5 separate regions of the Homo sapiens genome follow, and all the other regions are linked to region 4. The links are contacts of gene promoters, found by promoter capture Hi-C in blood cells and fetal thymus (Javierre and others, 2016). All regions are on one chromosome and are shown on one strand. The core of a region is centred on a gene start or on the middle of the fragment in contact, and the rest is flanking DNA. Distances in the headings are between cores, read along the strand shown.

Region 1 (4,197 bases), core at 1,044-3,543, 410 kb before region 4:
CTCTCATGAGAACAGCCTGGGGGAAACCAACCCCATCATTCAATAACCTCCACCTGGTCTCTCCCTTGACACAGGGGATTATAGAGATTACAATTCAAGATGAGATTTGGGTGGGGACACAAAGTCTAACCATGTCAGCGTCTTTTAATAATAATTTTTCAAAAATCACTTTATACCATTTGCTTATTCTTGCTTTCTATAGTATCTGATTTTTGAGTCATTTTGCATTGTCCTTTGTATTGTTATTCTGAGGCTCCACAGGGAAAATCAACTGGTTTTCATTGGTTTACACCATTGTAGGCGCTTAGGTTTGACTCTTTTCCATTTTGCTAAGCCACTGACCATTCTTTCATCTGTTTTCATATTTATAGAAATAGTTTGCATTATACATGTTTCCTTGCATCAAAGATAAAATTGAGTTTTCTCTTTCTTGTTCTAATTATTTTGGGGTGATTCTTTGAGAGGAGAAAAAAGTGAAAATCTTTTAACTATTTATCTTGAAATCACTCATCTAATTGACTTAAAAAAAAGAAACTCCTTTAGACTAATATAACTATAAAAGAAGAAAAACATGTCTATTTCTTTCTCTTAGTAGCAAAACTACTACGATACTTGCATCAAACCTTACTTGAAGAAAAAAATCTAACCTGAAAATGAAGGCGAGTATAAATAGGACTATTTGTTTCTGACAAGTGCTTGAATGAGTGATACATATGCTGAGTATAGACATGCAAGGGTTCTAACACACAATAGAATACACTCTTACTCCTACCTCTTTCTTAGCTTAGATATTTTGTATCCCTGTTGCATTTGTATGCTGAATCTCACATGGGTAAGTATTCATATAATCTTTATAGAAATAAATAAAAATGTTACCTTCTTAGGATATTAGGTGGCAAAAAAGATTAATTCCATATTTATTGTTCATGTGTATACTGATACAGTCACTAGAGACGATACTTGGTGACTCACAAGATTAATTTTATTTTTATAAAATGGATCCTCTACAATGGATTACTTGCTGTATCTTGGAGCAAGGCAATTCTTGAGCTACTTCAAATATTTTTCCACTTTATTGGAGGCTTAGTATATATTATCCTTCAAATGTGCTATAAATCCGTTTAAATTAAAAATACTTTTATGCTTGCAGTTGGACGTCCTTTCACAGTTTTACAAAAAGAAGAATATAGCCATTCTATTTTATTTTACTTAAAACCATTTATTTAAATTCTTGTTGGAAAGTGGATTAGGTAACTACCTATGAGAATGATGTAGGTGATACTTTTATTGGGCCATCAGCCCTTTCCCCTCTCATCCCATTGCTCATTAAGAGACTTATCTGACCTTCAGGGTTTCTTGAGAGCCAAACCCTGGCAACGACTTCTGCAAATAACAAACAACAGAAGCTGGTTGGAGCGGCAGGGTAAGCAGACTGTCATTGGCAACTTTTTGGAATTATGTCAAAGCGATGCAGCAGCAATCCTTTAACATTGCTGCAGGCTTTTACCATGCCATCAAGCGCTAATCAATCAAGATGGGAAGATAGGCCCAGCACGATGGAATTAAAAAACTAGCAAGGTCATCATCCTACACAGCATTAGATGGTTTCCACCTGCCCCCCTCATCCTTTTTTTTTAGTATGTTTTCCCTAAAACTTTTAAATCTAGAGTAGGGAGAACGTCAGCATTTAAAAAGAACATCAGCGTTTAAAAAGAGACATTGTAAATATGGCTGTGAAGATCACATGCTCCAAAAGACAATTAGGTCAACATATTTCTTCTTCTTTTTTTTTTTTTTTTGCATGATGTAGGTTAAGAAAAGATTCCTACTAAAGAACGACTGAACTTACCTTACAGAATATATGGGATGGATCTGGAGGTGTATAGGATGTGTCTATATCTACATTGATAAACAAAAAATGAATTAGTGGTTGAAAGTGAAGAAGCTGGATAATTTAAGATGAGGAAAAGGCAAAACTACAGATAATTCATATTAAGCTTAGTATGTTGTTAAAACTCACTAGCTATCATTTTAGATAACTTTTATAATAGACAATAACAGTGTTAAATTTCTTTTGGAAGGTAAAAGGAAAGAAAAATTACCCTGATCATCAAGGTGCAATTGTAAGAACTTAATGAAATTTTCTTCTAGTTTAAGATATTACTATACACAGTAACATTTAGCAGATTATGTAAAGTAACTGATTTCATTTTCTAAGAATTTATTTCTTTAATTTTTAATTTTGCCACTATAAGATTCACCTAGCTTTATATTTAGCAGCAAATTTTATTTTTTGTTTTTGTGACAGAACCTTAAGAATACTGAATGATCTGTGCATGGGAGCCATCATTCTGCTAATTTCTTACAGGAATAAGAAATGTATATTGACTTGAAATCAAGTTTTAATTGTATGGCACATTTCTATACTAGTTTCCTAACACAGTATGCCAGCCATTGGACTTTGGAAAATAAATAATCCTCAGTAACAGGAATATAGATTAATTCACAACTTTTAACTGTGATAACTTTCTCTCTTTGGAAGACATTTTTAGAGACATAAAACTGAATACATCTACCAGCACTGTTCATTAAAGCTTATAGTAAACGACTAACCTTCCCACATCTCTGACACTGAAAACTGTCAGGATTGTTGATTTAGAAGAGGCTTATAGACAAGGAAATTCAGAGTCACAAAAAAAATTTAGAGATCATCTCTCAGCCAATACTGCCTAGATTTTTGCGTTTCTAAAATAACGCAGTCTTTATCCCTTTAAGTGATAAATAAAATGTTATTAAATACTTTGATGCTAATATTTACCCTTAGCACATGCACTGTATTAAAAAGTTCCTAAAGAAGCATAGCATGCTGAATCTTTTAAGGTTGGAAATCCATCTCTAAAGGAGAAATAGCCATCTTTCTTTCAAAGGATCATCTTAGCAGCTGTACTGTTCATTTTTGTCCATTTCTTGATATTGCCTCCATTAATTAGCTTCTTTTTCTTAGACTTGCTCGTAAGTCTAATGTCCTTTCACCAGCTTTGATTTCTTGTCCTTGTTTTGAAACATTTTCTTTCATTACTAAAATTCTCAGAATGAGCTACTCTTTTTGCACCTGTTTTATTTCCACTTATTGTGAAATCTTTGCATTTTTGATCTTTGACTCTCATATCCAACAAAAACAGTCTCCTGAAAGCTCTCACTTTCTGTTCACCAAATACAGCGACCACTTTCTTGACCTTAGTAGATTTTAATGTTCAGCAGCCTGCTGCGTTCTGAAACCACATTTAAATTCTCCCTGTGACCAAAGTTTCTTAGCATGCATTAGCCTTTCAAAACCTGGCTCCCAGCTCCTTTCTTGCACCTTCCCTGCAGCATCTCCAAATCCTCCACTCTCCTGGCGGTCCAGACTCTGCTGTCACCCCCTGTACTGGCACTGTCAGACCCTGCTGTTCTACTATTCTCTATTTGGACTGCCTGTTCCTGTCCTTGTCCCTTATGTAACTCCTGAACATTTGTTTTATTCATTTTATTCATCTTTCACCTAAATGCCATTTTCTTCAAAAACCTAACCTTCTATCCTTCAATTCAGAATTAATGGGTGTTTCTTGTGTACTTTCAGATATTGTATTTCATTGTAGTTCTTACATTCATTAATTCATTATGCTGGGTCAACCAGACACATAATATCAAGAGCTCACACTCTAGTGAAGAAACGTACTTGAAAAGATTTTAAAATGCTATTAAGTAGTATTGTAATGGTATGCACATTTGCTCTGGGAGGCTAATGGAGGGGCTGCCAAAATTGTGTGAGGGAGCTGAGTAATGCTTCCTGAATGTGAAGCATGAATTGGAGTTCACCTAGCAAAAAATATGGGAAGGGTTTTCTAGGGCTTTGTCCATCTATTCAGAAAACATTCACGTAACACCTATTATGTGCCAGGCATTGTATTAGACACTGAAGATTAAAAATCGAAAAGTTATAACATCAACAATGGTGATAAAAACACCATTGGCCCCTTCTTTCTTTCCTAAAGAAGACAGAGAACATTGACAAAAGAAAGTTTTTCTAAAATTCAGTCTGGACATGCTTTCGGAGTCTCTGCCGTATTCCTTTCATATGCTAGAGTTACATGTGTTAGCACATAGTAGGCACTCCAAAATATTTGTTGAAAATTGAGAACAAATGAATGAATACTC
Region 2 (4,139 bases), core at 626-3,125, 470 kb before region 4:
CCTTCTTCCTTCTTCTTTCCTTCTTCCTTCTTCCTTTCTCCTCCTTCCTCCTTCTTCCTCCTTCTTCCTCCTCCTTCCTCCTCCTTCCTTCTCCTTCTTCCTTCTTCTTCCTTCTTCTTCTTCTCCTCCTCCTCCTCGTCCTCCCCAGAGACAGGGCCTCACTCTGTCATTCAGGCTTGAGTGCAGTGGTGCGATCATAACTCACTGCAGACTTGGCTCCTGGGTTCAAGCACGCCTCTTACCTCAGCCTCCAGTAGCTGTGACGTGCATGCCATGACATCTGGCTCTTTATTTTTGTAGAGATGTTGCCAAGGCTGGTCTTGAACTCCTGGCTTTAAGCAATCTTCTTGCATTTGCCTCCCAAAGTGTTGAGATTATAGGTGTGAGCCACCATTCCTGGCCCTGGCATTTCATAATTCCCAGATGCACTTGCTACACCTAAGCATTTTTGTTTTTGTTTGAATTTTCAGTGAGAGCTCCCTTTGCCTCATCAAATTTCCTCTCCCAAACCCTAATCTCTTAACAAAACTGGAGTTCTCTGTCTGTATTTACAGCTTCTCTCTCCTTTTGCTAGATTAATGAGAAGCAGTTTCTCTATTAGTGAGTGGAAAAAATTGGAATTTGCTGTTGCCCACAAGCCATTCAATAAAGAGCTACACTATTTCCCTATTTCCTTAGGAGGATCAATGAGTATTTTTTTGGTGATAAAATATGGCATATATAACTGGGCAACAATAAAATCTTGAGAAATTAAGGATTTATTTATAGTTCCTCTGAAAATTGCCTACGTTTATTCATATATTTATAGTATTACAAAGTTACATATGAAGCAATAACTTACTGATACATTTGTAAAGACTGCCTAAGGAATTCAAGAAGAAGAACTTAGACATTTTGATACCCACAAAGGGCCAAGTTATTAAAACAACTTGAAACCAGTTGTCTATATAATGAAGACTACCTAAAGGAAAAAAATTACATGTGGCCACTGACTGTGAGCTTTCATTGTCTTTGCAAAGCAATTTATTAAAAGATTGGAAATGTGAAAGAGAGCTGGCACAGTTACAAACTTCAGAGCATGCTGCACATGGTAAACTATTGGCAAACAAAGCATAGGACAAATCGTGGGCATACAAATTAATGTACAAAGGAAAGTCTTGCAGACATATGATTGAAATTCCTGATTAAGTATTTCAATTTAAACTCTACTGAATTTGGGTACTCCCACAGCAAAATCTTATCTTGCTTCTGTTAGAAAGAATTATTGAAGAAGTGTCCAGTTAAAGCTGAAATGATTATGACAAGCCTGTGTTATAACTATGTGGTAAATGTCTAGTCTTAGCTCTAATTGGTCTTATTTTAATGTGTTTATTGTTTAATTGCTTGTGAGAATGATTTATTCTTTCATAGAACTGAGATTAATGGTAACTGGCAGCTTTATTGGCATTGCTATCAGAGAAATGACCAAAAGTCTCAAAATAGAATTGAGAAGACAGATTCTAGGCACAGGGTAATGTCAGACTAATATAGCTACATGATAACTGTATTTTAAAAGTGTTACTACTGCAACGTTTTTTAGTGTGTCCATTAATGTCATTTTTCATTTTCATTTTTTAATGTATGGGGTTGAGATGATACTATGGGATTGAGTATAATTGCCTTTTATAGAATGCGTGGGACTGATATTTTCTAAAAATGGACAAAAATCCAGCACTTAAAGCCATTAATTTGAAACCCTAAGGTTTCTTATATCTTCTGTAGAATAATATTTTTGGTGAAAGTTTGGAAAACTATGTGCAAGGATAACATCTTTTGGGTATTCAATTTTGTTAGATTGCTCTAAGCCTTTACGTATATTTGGAATCTACGTCATATATGTACAAAAGTGGCCTTGCCACTTACATAGATTCATCTGTTGGTAGATAGAAAAAAACCCGATATATCCTTTGCATATTCATGTTATTGTTGTGTTTTCTATGTCAGGTCAGATTTTCATATTAACTAGCTTTGGAGGTGGGCATTGGAGAAGACTGCCATTCCACATATTACGCATTTTTAAATATAAATTCAGATTGTTACAATACAGCTAAACATGATGAGAGGTCTTATATTCTTCAGGGAACAAAGTTCAATAATACAGGGAATGCATTTAAATGGGAAAATATAACCTATAAAATATAAGAAATTGCACGATAGCTATTTGGTAGAACAGAATGAAAACTCAAGATTTCAGTGAAGAAGAACCTAGAAAATATATTACTTTGTTTTCTATTGTTTTTTCTTTATTATGAAATATAATATGTATGTAGAAAAATGTATAAAACAAATACTTGTCATGTGGACAAATAATTATGTGGTAAACACTGTACAATCACCATTGAGGTCAAGAAATACAATGTAGCCAGCTCCCAGGAAGTCCTCAACCATGTTTGTCCCTCTCTCATCACAACCTCATCTCTTTGACCTAGAGATATCCATTCTGTGGTCTTTTCTCATAAAACTGTAAAGAAAAGTAGGGAGCACTAATCCCTCATATCCATCTCTAAAAACTGCATTTTAGTTTAGTTGTTTCTTTAAAAAAGAAACTCTGCTTGAATGGCCTCATATATTTCTTTTTGCCTACCAACTGTATCTCAGTATTACATTTATGAGACATATTCACAGTCATATATGCTATAGCATAAAGTTTATTTTCATTGCTGTATAGTATTTCATTGTATGACTACACCACATTTATATCTGTCCTACCATTGGAAGACATTTGGCTTGTTTCCAGCTGTGACTGTCCTTGTACTTGTATTCGAGTGTGCATTTATACTAATTTCTCTAGACATGAAATTGTTAAGTGGAAGGAATGCAAATCTTCAATTTTACCAAAAAATGTCAAATGGTTTTCCAGCAATATATGGGATTTCCCATTGCCACATTCTTACCAGCACTTAGTATAGTTAAATTTTTAAAATTTCTGTTAGCCTGATGAATATATAATGATTGTGGAAATTTGCATGTCCCTTATTACTAATGAAATTGAGCAACATTTTGTACATTTATTTGTCATTTAGTTTTTTTTGTTATTTTGCCTAGTTACAATTTTGCCCATTTTTCTTCTGTATTATCTTTTAAAAATTTATTTATAGAAATGATTTTAATATTCCAGTTACCAGTTTTTTGTTTGTCCATTGCAAATATCTTTCTCTCTTTTTTGTAATTTTTTTCTTTATAGTTCTTTAGATAAGAAGATGTCCTTAACGTTACATAAAAAATGTATCAATCACTCCTTCATGAATAATTTTGTTTGCACCTTATTTAAGAAATCTTGGCTGAGCGTGGTGGCTCATGCCTGTAATCCCAGCACTTTGGGAGGCCGAGGCAGGCAGATCACCTGAGGTCAGGAGTTCAAGACCAGCCTGGCTAACATAGTGAAACCCCATTTCTACTAAAAATACAAAAAATTAGCTAAGTGTGGTGGCACGCACCTGTAATCCCAGCTTCTTGGGAGGCTGAGGCAGGAGAATTGCTTGAACCCAGGAGGCGGAGGTTTCACTGAACCAAGATCGTGCCATTGCACTCCAGCTTGGGCAACAAGAGTGAAACTCTGTCTCAAAAAAAAGAAAGAAAGAAAGAAAGAAAGAAAGAAAGAAAGAAAGAAATCTTTCCCTACCTTAAAGTCATATAGATATGTTTCTCTATTATTTTATAAATACTTATAATTTTACCGTTTTAATATTGGTCTTTATCTGATTGGCTTTAGTACATTTTGTGACTAAGGGTCTGATTTTATTTTACCCTACATGGATATTCAATTTTCCTGGCACCATTTACTTCAAAAGCTGCCATGACTTTACTAATAGATTCTGGTATTTCTGTCATATACAGATGCCCATACCAATGTGGCCTGACTCTGAGCTCTCTGTCACTGGGCTAGTACCACACTGTTTTATTTACTTCAGTTTTAAAATAAGTCTTGACATCTGTTATAGCAAGTTCCCTTACCTTGTACTTCTTCAAAAGTATTTTGGCTATTCTTGACTTTAGAACTTTTGTGTATATTTTAGAATCAGCTTGTCAAACTCTATAAAATGACTATTGAAATTTTGTTTGCAATTGAATTGAATCCATTCAGCTGGGAAGAATTGACA
Region 3 (4,417 bases), core at 1,362-3,861, 490 kb before region 4:
TTGTCTCTAAGAAAACAAACAAAAAACAACCTCCTCCCCACCAAAAAACCCATTACATTTGATAAGATGACATTATTCCTACTTTCCCTTTTTCTTTTTCTTTTTCACCGAAATATTTGTTAAATATTTCCAGCTAAAAGATACCCTGCTTTAGGCATGTACAGTTACATGTATGTGCATATATGTTTTCTAGACCATTTTAGGAGGAAGTATTGAGACAAAGGTAAATGCAAAATCATTAGCATTCTTGGAGTTGACTTTTGTGTTTTTATTGTTCAAGCCTATGTGAGCAAGTTAAAACCAGGTATAGGTCAAGTTCACCTAGTAGACGAAGATAAAATTTGTGTGTGTGTGTAAAATATACCTGGTCTATAGGCCTCCCACACTGGTCATTTTTAGTTGGTGCACAAGCTTATTTAAGGAGATGATTTTCCTTTCTTGCCTCATTTTCTACATATGAGATCACTGTGCCTTATTTTCCCCACCTATGTGACCCTTTTCTGCTTTGTCATTTTTGACCTCAAGGCAGGAAGAGATAGTAATCAGAGAAAGAATTGAAGAAGGATTTTTGTGGCATCAGAACTTTTGGAGTTGACTTGATGAGTTCCAAGTAGTGTTTGACTTTGTACTAAGCCATGGGCAGCATATTTAAAATGCTATCACATGAGCTAGAAATTGCTGAGAGGCTCAACTTGATATTGGAATGGTTTAGAATTGCCTGTTTGATTTGGTGTCTCCTGGGTGATACTTTCTTTGCTTTTCCTTTTGTTCTTACTTTTCTTTGGCTTATACACCCTCTATCCTATAATATTACAATAACCTTTACTTAGACTGAGTGAGAAGAAATTTGTTAAGCAAGGCTAACTTTTCTCTCTGTTTTTATAACTATTGCTTTTTGCTTACTTTTACTGTAGAATCACTCTGGTCCCTATCTAATATAGCTAAATGGAGAATAATTTCCTTTTAAGTAAACTTTAAGACATGTTGAGTTAGGAAATACAGCAATGTTGATGATGATTGGGAAAAGGGAAAAGTCTTACATATGGAAAATCTAACCAGAGCTGTGACAAAATTTTGATCTGATTGAAAGAAGAAAAGAGAAAATTGTTCCAAATAGCAACATGATAATGAACAAACCTGAAGCATAGCTTCTTGCAAGTTTCTACATTATGAATAACTTGCACCATCTTATCTTCCATTGCTTCATTTTTAAGTAATACAACAGACAGAAAACATGCAGCAGGAAGGACTAAATACCTTTTGAGAGAATGCTATTTGCAGCCAAGTTTTGTAAGGCTCAGGCATTATAGATAGATTAGATTAGATTCAAATGTATAATTCACAGTGGCTTCTTCTAGCAACAACATCTAAATGATGAGACTCAGTTGTTGCTTCTAATAGTAAAGGCAAAGAAAGAAATAATTGGAGAAGAGGAGGAGAGAGAAAACAGTAGAATTTGCGGGAAAAAATAAGCCTTACATATGCCTTTTTACTTATGCAAATTTGGAAAATGGAGCAGAGAGAAATGAATTAGGCAGCTGTGTGCTGCATGGAATATCCTAAGTGATCTGATAAATATGTATGTCGTACTTTACCTACTTAACACAGTGTCGTTTCAAAACAAAAGTATTGATTGTATTAATGAAATTCTATTGTATTACGGCCAGAGAGGTGATTCTCTTACAAAATATAAAAGAGGCTGGGTGCGGTGGCTCATGCTGTAATCCCAGGACTTTGGGAGGCCAAGGCGGGCAGATCATGAGGTCATGAGATCGAGACCATCCTGGCTAATATGGTGAAACCCCTGTCTCCACTAAAAATTACAAAAAATTAGCCGAGCATGGGGGCATGAGCCTGTAGTCGCAGCTACTCGGCAGACTGAGGCAGGAGAATCATTTGAACCCGGAAGTTGCAGTGAGCTGAGATCGTGCCACTGCACTCCAGCCTGGGTGACAGAGAGAGACTCTGTCTCAAAAAAAAAAAAAAAAAAAAAGTAAAAGTAGTTTTGTTTTTAGGTTAGCAAACTTTCCTTAGCTTTTATATACATGCCCCCTCCTTGCAAATTCTGCCTGCGAGTATAACTGATTAATCAATAATACACTCAATAAAATATTTTTATCTTGTATATATCCACTGTTTATTCTGATTGCCTTACTTTGGTGAACATAGTAGCCATGATTGGACATTTTATGTTGTTGACACAATGATCTAGTTTTACTACATGAGGGTACTGGAATTTAAAAGGAAAATAGCTTTTAAACTCAACTTGAATCTTTATCTCCAGTTGATGCAAAAGAGTGTCCTGAGTGCTTTTTAAAAGTACAAATGCTCAATCTCTAGGACTCTTTCACTAAACCAGAAACCCTGAAAAGGTAGTCTCAGTATTTGCATGCTCCATAAGTGTGACAGGTGAATCAGCTGATCAGGTTCCACTGGGCTGGAAATGGTTAAGGGATCTCCAATGGCATCTCAATTGATTACTTCCTCTGAAAACTGTTTCCTTTAAACTAATTAGCAGCCATCTGACCAAGGCATCATATTTCTTGTCTTTTACCTGGTTTTGTGCCCAAGGTCTCTGATTCTCAGTCCCCTAGGGGACAGAAACAAGAGATAGAATACTGTGTCATGGACTTGCTTGTGTCAGGGAAAAGAAGAAGAACTTTCCTCGTATGCATTATTGTGAGTCTGTCTTTTATAAAACTACCGTGCTTCTCAAGTCAGTGAGAGCAGCATTCAGATGAGTTGTGAGGATTAGGTGGTGATAGCACAGATGTCTCCTCAGCTACCTCTCTCTTTATCTTTCACCAGTAATAATATAACAAATGATGTTTTCACATTTAAAGTCATGATCCCAGGGAGGAAATTCTCACTGCAAGCTGTTGCCAGACTAGAAGCCACTTGCGCCAGAACATTTTATAGTCCTCCTTGGCTCTCTGACCACTCTTGAGATGGAGCCAGCATTTTACTCTATTTTGACTTGGGTTATAATGATTGTTTTCCCAACAATAATTATAACATTGTATACCAATCCTTTTCATTGCTGGCAAATATCTTTGACTCTTGTAATGCTAGTAAATTATTAGTCTAGGTATTTTATGATTAAAAAAGTATGAATTAAATATACAACTTGCCTATAAGGGGTGTATAGGCTAATAAGAAAAATAAATCACACATTAGTAATTAAAACTGAAAGGAAAGTCATTCATGCAGTAAGGGAAGTACAAGGTAACTGCTATGGCGGAGTTCAGTTGAGGAATAATGTACTTCTAGCTGGGAGCAAGAGATTGTGGGAGACATTGTAGAGAAGGTGATTTGTGAATCTGACTTTGAAATAAATCTAAACGGTGACCTCTAGAGATGTGGTTGTTGGCAGACAGAGCAAAGTGGCAAAGGCACAGGAAGGGTGAGTATGGAGGCCTTTATAGGAGGACTATGAATAGTGCAGATTGGCTACTGGAGAGTGGGGTCCAAATTAAAGAGAACCTTGGTTCTTAGCTTACGGCATTCAGACTTGCTCTGTGGTTAATTGGAGAGGCAGTAAAAGTATTTTCACTGAGAAGCACATTGTTTTAGTAAGATTATTCTGGCAGCAAGAAGTAAAAAGGGAAGAGACTAGAAAGAGGGAAGATATAGTTGAGGAAAAGATTGTCTACCTCTTGTCATGCTTTAAAACTAAACTCAGCTGGTGTGACTCAAAGATTTTTAAAATTTACAGAGCAGTCAGGGAATTAACTCTCTTGTGGAAAATTCCATTAATGACAGAATCTGGCAAGATAATGTCATTAATAGTAGAGTCTTTGAATTTCAAGACTATATCCAGATGATGTTTCTGCTACTACTACTTCATTTTTCTAGGATACATTTAATTCTTTAAAGTGCTTTTACATTTAAAGTGTGGTACTGCATCCTCACTTTATTTCAACAATGTACAGTTAAGATAATAGCTCACTGTAAGTTGCGGCACTAAAGTTCTACAGGAAGTAAGTGGCTTCCCTGGAAATATCACTCGATTTTGCAACTTGTAACATTTCTCTTTTCCCATTATCTTTCCCTTTTCTAATTCAAGTGAATACAGGAGTGCTGGCTTACCTCAGAAGTAGTCATTAGTTATGTATAAATCCTCTTTTTACTCATTTAAGGAAAGACACTTTTCCTTGTGTATACAACCACAAGTTCTACCTTTTATTTTAGGAAATCAGACTCTTCAGTCATCTGAAATGGTTAAAAAAAAATGTCTGAGAAGGAATAAAGGCATACTTATCCTTGGGAATAGAAGTGTACATAAAATTCCAATTAAATTATTATGTGAAAAAATCCTTCTGCTCCTGTGTTTCTTCCTACATCTATAAGCTCTGTAGGTTTAAACATGCTTCCAAGAGCATTTAACACTGGCAAATTTAAATGCTGATGAGAGGTA
Region 4 (4,062 bases), core at 543-3,042:
CTTGATATATGCCAGATTTTTGGTTTATTATTTTAATATGTTATTTTTGATGCCAACAGATATGAATGATTTTCCAATCAAGGTTTTTCACTCCGATGTGTCCCAGGTAGGATCTGGCATATGAATCATATGTCTAAAAAGGAAACTCATGAAAGTATGTGTGCGTGCTAGGGGGCTCATTTGTCTTTGGCAAAGACATTGCTGCTCCTGTTTCCTTAATTATTAAACAGATGGTGCCCACTGCCATTGACTAGCTGCCCAACTCATACTCCTGTGTGGTAGCACAATTCTGGACATCTGACAGAGAGAAGCTATACCTTTATAGTATATCTGCCTTCTACTAGAACAGGCTGCTTCCCATGAAGCTGTTTAAAACTTAAGTCATCTTCTCCCCCTGTCCCCATAAATTAATTTTATCTCAAGGATCTCCTTTTGGCTTTTTTTATTGCTTCATGTCTACATACAAAATACAGTGGCATATTGAATCAATTATCTAAATGCTCTAGGCTGTAAATACACTTTAACCTGGAATGTCAAGATAATTAAGACAAAATTGGATTATTAAGATTATTATTAGTGAGGGCAAATGACATCTAAGATAGCCATGTTAAAAGTGGAGTATCATATTAAAAAGACAACTAGATCCCAGGGAACATCAATAGAGTTTAAGTCCATTGAACAGATACTGAATTCTTTTTCATAATCTGCCAAAAAAAGGTTAGCTTGAAAATTTTCTTTTAGTTTCTCAAATATCACACTGCTGCAGTACACGAACCTTTACTCATTAATAACTAAGGTCCTGATTTTTTTCATATGCTTTGCTCGAAGATGTAGTATTTTGCAGCCATAGACAGTCTTCTAAGATCTCTCCTAGTGTTAACCCACCTATCCTCACCTCTCCCTTGAGATTTTTCTTTATTTTTTGATGAACTATCTGGGCTTTTAAACTTTGTTAACCTTTTTTGAGGATACGGTCACTTAATCTCAATGTAATTTTACTTTCCACAGTCAAAAACTATTGTGTAATACTCATGCACTGGATTTAAATGACTGCTGCCTCTCCTTCCTTTCTTTTTATACTATTGTGGTCTAGGTAAGGCTGATTCTTCCATCATTTGAACCAACAGGCCAGGCTTGGGTTCTCATAAAGCAGACCTTCCAGCAGGAGCGACCAAAGGATGACACTGTCACCTGAAATTGGACTGCTGTTGTACCTGACTTGGGAACATCTTTGAATCAGACAGTAGAAGTGGCTGTCATTTTCAGGGACAGTAGAAAGTATGTTGGCTCTCATCTGCCAAGTAGGCAAACACAATCTTTTTTTTTTTTTTTTCCTTCCAACGTTCTAGGGAGCTCAGCCTCAGGGCTAGCCGCAGCCCCCCACACCCCGGGGCTGCGGTGGGCTGCGCGGTGGATCAGCCTCAGCAGCCCCTGCTCCAGCCTGTAGGGTGAACCGGCCGCTTTCCCAGCAAAGGAGCAATCGAGCTGAGGGTAGCGCCTCCTCCGCAGGAGGGGGCGGGAGCTCGGCTGAGAAAGCTTTCCTAGGGAGTTGCCTTAAAGAAAGAAAGCGGAATTGTCGATCACTCCAGTTGCCAGTTTTATACAATTTTAAGCAGTCGTCGCCACTCGTTTCCCCTTTGCAAAACTGCAAATCACCACCAACCTTGCATCAAATAGAAGTGGGGAGGGAAAAAAAAAGCAAATCTCCTTCTCCCTTCTCACCCTCCCTTTCTTCTCACCCTCCCTTCCTCTCTTACTCGCTCCTTCTCCCTCCCTCCCTTCTGCGGCTGCCGCTAGTCTCTCGGTCTGGCTCTCTCTCCGACGGGACTTAGCAACTTCTTATTTCTCAGCCCCTTGTCCATTTTTTTTTTTCCATCCTTTGCCATGAATTGGATTGACAGAGGCGGGGGAGGCTTTGCTTTCTGCCCCAGGGAATGGCGATTCGCGTCCTGGGGCCGTGCCGGGGAGAATCGGCCGAGGAGAAAGAAAGAGTGATAGAAAAAGAGCTGCAGGAAGGAGGAGAAGGGAGACCTCCATCTGCCGCGGGCCCGGCGCGCTGCAGCGCAGCGCAGCGCCGAGCTGCGCCTCGGAATGGCCCGGAGCCCGCCCTGCGCCCCCGGCTCCTCCAGCGTCAGCGGCTCCTGCGCGCGGGATGCATTGGGCAATTTTTGAAATCCTGAAGTAGGAAGAGACCCCGGAGGATATAAGTCGGGGGTGGGGGTGGAGCAGAGAATCTGTGAAAGATATTCAAAGAGAGAAAAGGGGAATCCTGATCGTTTCTGCCCGTGCTTGTTTTCAACTTGAGCGTGCTAGCCTTTAACTTGAAGAAGTCTCATTGGAGCATCTAGCATTCTCCAGGAGTTATTCGAAAGCTGAAACTTTCAGTGGATTGTGGGCCTGGGGAGAAGAAGGATTCCGAGGGTGGAATTGGGAAGAGCGTGCGTGCGTGTGTGTGTGTGTGTGTGTGCGCGCGCGCGCGTGGGTCGGGGCGGGGGCGTCGGGGGGCCACTGGGAATTCAGTGAAGAGGGCACCCTATACCATGGCAGTGCCCGGCGACGCTGCACGAGTCAGGGACAAGCCCGTCCACAGTGGGGTGAGTCAAGCCCCCACGGCGGGCCGGGACTGCCACCATCGTGCGGACCCCGCATCGCCGCGGGACTCGGGCTGCCGTGGCTGCTGGGGAGACCTGGTGCTGCAGCCGCTCCGGAGCTCTCGGAAACTTTCCTCCGCGCTGTGCGCGGGCTCCCTGTCCTTTCTGCTGGCGCTGCTGGTGAGGCTGGTCCGCGGGGAGGTCGGCTGTGACCTGGAGCAGTGTAAGGAGGCGGCGGCGGCGGAGGAGGAGGAAGCAGCCCCGGGAGCAGAAGGGGGCGTCTTCCCGGGGCCTCGGGGAGGTGCTCCCGGGGGCGGTGCGCGGCTCAGCCCCTGGCTGCAGCCCTCGGCGCTGCTCTTCAGTCTCCTGTGTGCCTTCTTCTGGATGGGCTTGTACCTCCTGCGCGCCGGGGTGCGCCTGCCTCTGGCTGTCGCGCTGCTGGCCGCCTGCTGCGGGGGGGAAGCGCTCGTCCAGATTGGGCTGGGCGTCGGGGAGGATCACTTACTCTCACTCCCCGCCGCGGGGGTGGTGCTCAGCTGCTTGGCCGCCGCGACATGGCTGGTGCTGAGGCTGAGGCTGGGCGTCCTCATGATCGCCTTGACTAGCGCGGTCAGGACCGTGTCCCTCATTTCCTTAGAGAGGTTCAAGGTCGCCTGGAGACCTTACCTGGCGTACCTGGCCGGCGTGCTGGGGATCCTCTTGGCCAGGTACGTGGAACAAATCTTGCCGCAGTCCGCGGAGGCGGCTCCAAGGGAGCATTTGGGGTCCCAGCTGATTGCTGGGACCAAGGAAGATATCCCGGTGTTTAAGAGGAGGAGGCGGTCCAGCTCCGTCGTGTCCGCCGAGATGTCCGGCTGCAGCAGCAAGTCCCATCGGAGGACCTCCCTGCCCTGTATACCGAGGGAACAGGTAAGCACTGGCAACTCCTCTCTCGGCTCTTGGAAACTTGAAACACTTGGCAACCGGCGCAGAGTGGAGAGAATCCGAGCGCTGGGAACTAAAGGGAAGATAGCCTAGAAAACTGGTCTAACTTCAGAATTAAGAAACTAGCAGGTTTTTTTTTTGTTTTTTTTGTTTTTTTTTTTTTGTTTTTTTGCCCTCTCTTTCACACAGTAGTTTTATAACCTGAACGACTGAAACACAATTAACAAAACTAGATGGCATGTGTAGGGTCTTCCACAGCTGGGCCAACTTTTTAGATCTGCTACACCTGGTGTATGGCTTGCCTACTCTTTTCAGTACTCTTACGCTTTCCTTCCTTAGCAGAAATTTTAGAATTAAGTTTAGATTTTAGCAATGAGTGATTTTTTTAACACATAGATTTTACTAGATTTCTACTTTTTAAAAAGTAAAATCTTTTTAATGAAATGATATTAAACATTTATGAAAACCAGTAAAAAGATTCTAGAGCAAAGCAAGCTGTGCTTGAAGGTGAGGAATTGATACACATTTTCTGGTTTTGCAGTAAGTT
Region 5 (4,265 bases), core at 1,734-4,233, 440 kb before region 4:
ATAAATGTTTAAATTTAGGGAAGTGATAAATTAATTAGATTATTACTGGTAACAAACCAAGACCTATGTTCTAGTGTTAGAGTAGCCCTTGCATTTTGGATGAGTTACTTGTCCTCTCTAGTCTTCTGATTCCTCATCTGTAAAATAAATAGGCTGGACTAAACATAGCTTTCACGTGGTGTTATAGCAGAATTCTTCTTTGAATGAAATAGGGAAAGGAAACAGAACATGTCAAATAGGAAAAGAAGAGTCTGTTTTGGTTGAAGTAGGTTGCTAGAATCCCCCTGTCATTCATTCATTCATTCATTTGAGATGGAGTCTTGCTCTGTTGCCAGGCTGGAGTGCAGTGGTGCGATCTCGGTCCACTGCAACTTCCACCTCCCAGGTTCCCGCCATTCTCCTGCCTCAGCCTCCCGAGTAGCTGGGACTATAGGTGCGTGCCACCACGCCTGGCTAATTTTTTGTATTTTTAGTAGAGACGGGGTTTCACCATGTTATCCAGGATGGTCTCGATTTCCTGACCTCGTGATCTGCCCCCTCAGCCTCTCAAAGTGTTGGGGTTACAGGCATGAGCCACCATGCCTGCCCCACCCCCTGTCTTTTAAATTAGCTCCTAAGGCATCCTCAGAAAGAGAGCTTCCTTCATGCCATTCTGACATTACTGGTTTGTGGATCAGCATTTGAGAAGCTCTGGGTTCTTTTCAAGCTCCAAAATTCAATGAATATATTGTATGTGGTTGGGTGGTATAGTAAGTTTATTTTAGAGTGGATGCAAATTCTACCATTTATTTGTGTTCACTAATTGAAAACTTTCCTAAGGAAGAGGTATTTTTACTCCTGTTTGAGTCTGATTCCCTTAATGTAGGTGCTGCTTTTGCAGTACTCACTTCATCAATTGTCTCCTCTCTTTCCTGGATCTCCTGATTTGCATTGGATTCTTCACATTCTCAAACTTCTTTCACATTACCATTTTTTCATTTTTCTCTCTCTCGCACACCAAAGCAAACAAAACGTCTCCATTCACACTTCGTTCTCTTTGAATTACCACCCTAGTGAAAAAAATAATACAAGTTTTCCATCTCTGTTTCCTCACTATTCATGATCTATTGCAATTTGGCTTCATTATTACCTGTACATGAAAGTTCTTTTACTAAATTTACCTCTTGTCAAATCTAATGAAAATTTTCAGTTTTTCTTTTACATAACACTTTAAGTCATTCAACTCTTTTGCGTCACATTTGAACCATAAATCTGTTCTTATGATTTATTTACTGGTTTACTTTGTAGGCTCTTTTTTCTATGCCTGCTTTTGATATGTGCTGTTTCCCTTGTGCCCTTGGCATTTTTTTTTTTCAAAAACCCATTTTCATCCATGTTGAAGGCTCTACCTGCCACTTATCTGTTGATAGTCTAAAAATCTGTACCTCCAGTTCAAGCTGTTCCCTAGATTTCAAGACCCATTCATCCAATATGGGTATCCGAAAAGGCATCTCACACTCAAAATGTCCTTAATAGAATTCACATGGTTTCTGCACATACTGTGCCAGCTTTCAATCGATTGCTTCTCAGCTCCAATTCTTCTCTTTATTGCCTTCTCTATGATAATGGAGCTAGTTCCTGTCAGCATTTCTCCCTTGTCAGCTGGCATGATGTTAAGCTTTGTCAGTAGTGAATTTTGAAGGGCACTACAGGAAGGAGAGGTTTCTCTTCCTGGTTCATGTGCTCCTCTTTATAGGCTCCAGCAGCACACCATGGTCAGCAGCCAGCAGTGATTGACACTTTCCTGTGGGCCACTTTCCTCAGTACCCCAAGAGTAGCTTTCCAGTGGTTTCTGCATCCTGGCACCTCTTATGTGTCATTCCCTCCAGCATCCCAGCTGTTGGAATCCTAATGTGTTCTGCTGGTGTGGGATGCTAGCAAAATACTTTATCATCACTGGGCCATGGCTGCATTTCTCTGTCAAGGTCTGGAATTCAACTTTGGTGGGAGATGAAGGTCTCCTTCAGATTTGTTGCTTCCTTGGGTGTTATATCCTAGCCCCAGAGGTAGTGGCTGCTAGTGGATATCTACCATTTCTGTTGTCTTCAAAGTTTGCTTCTTAGTAGGTTATCCCTTATTTTAGCTAATAATTCTATGTGTTAACATTTCTCTATTTAAAGTACTGTGTGATTTCTGTCTCCCCATTTGACCTAGACCCATATGTATACCTCCTTTTTGTATTCTTCATCACAGAGACTATAACTACCAGAACTCATTCTTACTACTAATATCTAATCAATTGACAAGTCTTATTTACACATTCTATTTAATGCCTTTCTTATGCCTCTTCTCCACTTTATCCCTACTATCTTTGCCCTTGGTTATACCATATTATCTTTTACTTGGGCTCTTACAGTAGACTCCTATCACTGTGTTACAGCTAATTTTGATCAATATAATAAATATAACAGTCGTTTAGTTGATCTCTTATATTAGTCTTATAAATTAGACCTATCTGCAACTCTAGGGCATATTTTATATCAGATAAAAATGATTCTGCTTTGATTTTATGAAGACCTTTGAGAATACATCTAAATTGTTATGTAAGACTTACTTGTGACTGGTAAGCTCAGTTTAGATAATGAGCTCTCAAGAGCATACTATTGAACCAATTTAATTTGCTTCATAGCATCATTGCACAGTGGTTAAGAGTATGGACTTTGAAGCTAGCCTGCCTACTTTTCAGTCCTGACTCTAGTATTTACCAGCCATATGACCTTAGCAAAATGTTTAACTTCTTTGTACCTCAGTTTTCTTCTTTAACATCGGTTTAATAATATTACTTAATTCACTAAATTGTTAGGAGGATTAAAGTCTTAGAACATTTCTTGGCAATGAATAAATGTTAGCCATTCTTGTTATTGCATTGATTAAATAATTAGAAACTATATTTTTTCCAAAATATATTTAATGCTCTTGTTACTTGTTTTTCAGTATTCTATGATAATGATAAAGGTAATGATGATGATGATGATGATAATGATGATAATGATGATATGGAATGCAATCATTAAGGCTCAAACACGATTCTCTTCTCATTTTGGCAATGGCCTATAAAGCCCTGCCTCACAAGTAAGGGGAAACAAGGGAGAGAGTATGGATAAATTAATATGAACTGATCACAATTACAGGAAAACAAACTCAAAGGGCACAAAGGAACAGTCATGTGTACTGTTTTTGAATACAAAGGACTTTTTTTTTTTGTCCTCAGAAAACACTGAATAGCCTGTTGATTTCTTCCTGGCCCCAAATCTTTGGGTAGTACATTTCTTTTAATGAACTTGATGTTTTTATTTTCTAATTTAGATGATACTTGTTTAAAGCATTCCGCATTTCATCATTAAGAGCTCTTCTTTCAGCAAAAGCTCTCACATTATTAGAAACACTTCTGGGCAATTAAGAAAGGAGACTACATGAACTCATCCACTTGACAGGGCCTTTTTAAATGTTTTTTGAAAAGTTAGCTACAGCTATAATCATTTAATTACTTGATATTTGTCAAAACATTGCTGATTTTAGGTACTTTAATGACTGACAGCAAAGCAGGCAGAAAACTAGCACAACATCTGCCCACATGGAAATTACTTATTTGTGACAGACCTTTGCAACCAGCTCTCACAGACCATTCCAGCACTGGAAAGAAAGTGTCTACAGAAGGGCTGTAAAAAAAGCCCCAGCAACGTCAAGGACAACTGGACTTGAAAAATTTATTCATGACAAAGAGTATTGGAAAATTTCTGTGCCCTTTAATGTATTTAATGAAAGTATTTGGTTAAACTGTGATCTCAAGTATTAATTTCTACAGCCTTAAAATATTTGACTTTGTAGAATTTTCGTCTTTGTGTACTCTCAATCATCTCCAAATGGTAAGGCTCTTGCTTGGAGAAATTATGTGGCTCAAACATGTTACATTTCCAGATGGGCATGAAGAAGAATTTTATGGAATGTGATGGGTTCTAATTCGTCATAGGACAAAGTCGCCAATGAATAGCAAATGCAAAGCAGATTTTTCAAAAGGTGTTACCATTTTTCATTATTTACCTAGGAAATAGGTCTCCCCCAGGGTGGATAATCATTCCTTTTAGTAACTGATACAAAAGACTAACTGAAAAATCCTAAATTGAGATAAAAAAAGGAAAAATCTTACTTTCTGACCTCTGTTTAGTGTATTTTTCTCTCAGAATGAGAAATGTGTTTGCTATTTGATCTGTATGTGTGTGCTTATA

Evidence for each region. Contacts are between HindIII fragments. The CHiCAGO score rates a contact against its expected background, and 5 or more counts as called.
Region 1: a fragment that was not itself captured here is called in contact with the fragment with the promoter of PDE3A in region 4 in 1 of 17 cell types (megakaryocytes); the score reaches 7.0 in megakaryocytes.
Region 2: a contact is called between a fragment that was not itself captured here and the fragment with the promoter of PDE3A in region 4, in 1 of 17 cell types (monocytes). The highest score is 5.5, in monocytes.
Region 3: a contact is called between a fragment that was not itself captured here and the fragment with the promoter of PDE3A in region 4, in 1 of 17 cell types (monocytes). The highest score is 6.6, in monocytes.
Region 5: a contact is called between a fragment that was not itself captured here and the fragment with the promoter of PDE3A in region 4, in 1 of 17 cell types (megakaryocytes). The highest score is 7.0, in megakaryocytes.

Annotation. Positions count from the first base shown.
Region 1 is chr12:19,960,931-19,965,127 of GRCh38, forward strand. No RefSeq gene overlaps it. Among named protein-coding and RNA genes, the nearest start is that of LINC02398, 52 kb to the right of the region's middle. The HindIII fragment of the contact is 597 bases long and covers 1,996-2,592 here.
Region 2 is chr12:19,896,706-19,900,844 of GRCh38, forward strand. No RefSeq gene overlaps it. Among named protein-coding and RNA genes, the nearest start is that of LINC02398, 120 kb to the right of the region's middle. The HindIII fragment of the contact is 9,213 bases long and covers 1-4,139 here.
Region 3 is chr12:19,879,703-19,884,119 of GRCh38, forward strand. No RefSeq gene overlaps it. Among named protein-coding and RNA genes, the nearest start is that of LINC02398, 130 kb to the right of the region's middle. The HindIII fragment of the contact is 4,405 bases long and covers 410-4,417 here.
Region 4 is chr12:20,366,745-20,370,806 of GRCh38, forward strand. It overlaps PDE3A (phosphodiesterase 3A), which reads left to right and starts at 1,793. Exons shown (of 16, transcript NM_000921.5): 1 at 1,793-3,500. The coding sequence starts at 2,541. PDE3A-AS1 (PDE3A antisense RNA 1) reads right to left here and starts at 3,512. Exons shown (of 2, transcript NR_186033.1): 1 at 3,097-3,512. RefSeq lists a silencer at 2,831-3,125. The HindIII fragment of the contact is 3,200 bases long and covers 1,535-4,062 here.
Region 5 is chr12:19,927,998-19,932,262 of GRCh38, forward strand. No RefSeq gene overlaps it. Among named protein-coding and RNA genes, the nearest start is that of LINC02398, 85 kb to the right of the region's middle. The HindIII fragment of the contact is 2,657 bases long and covers 1,656-4,265 here.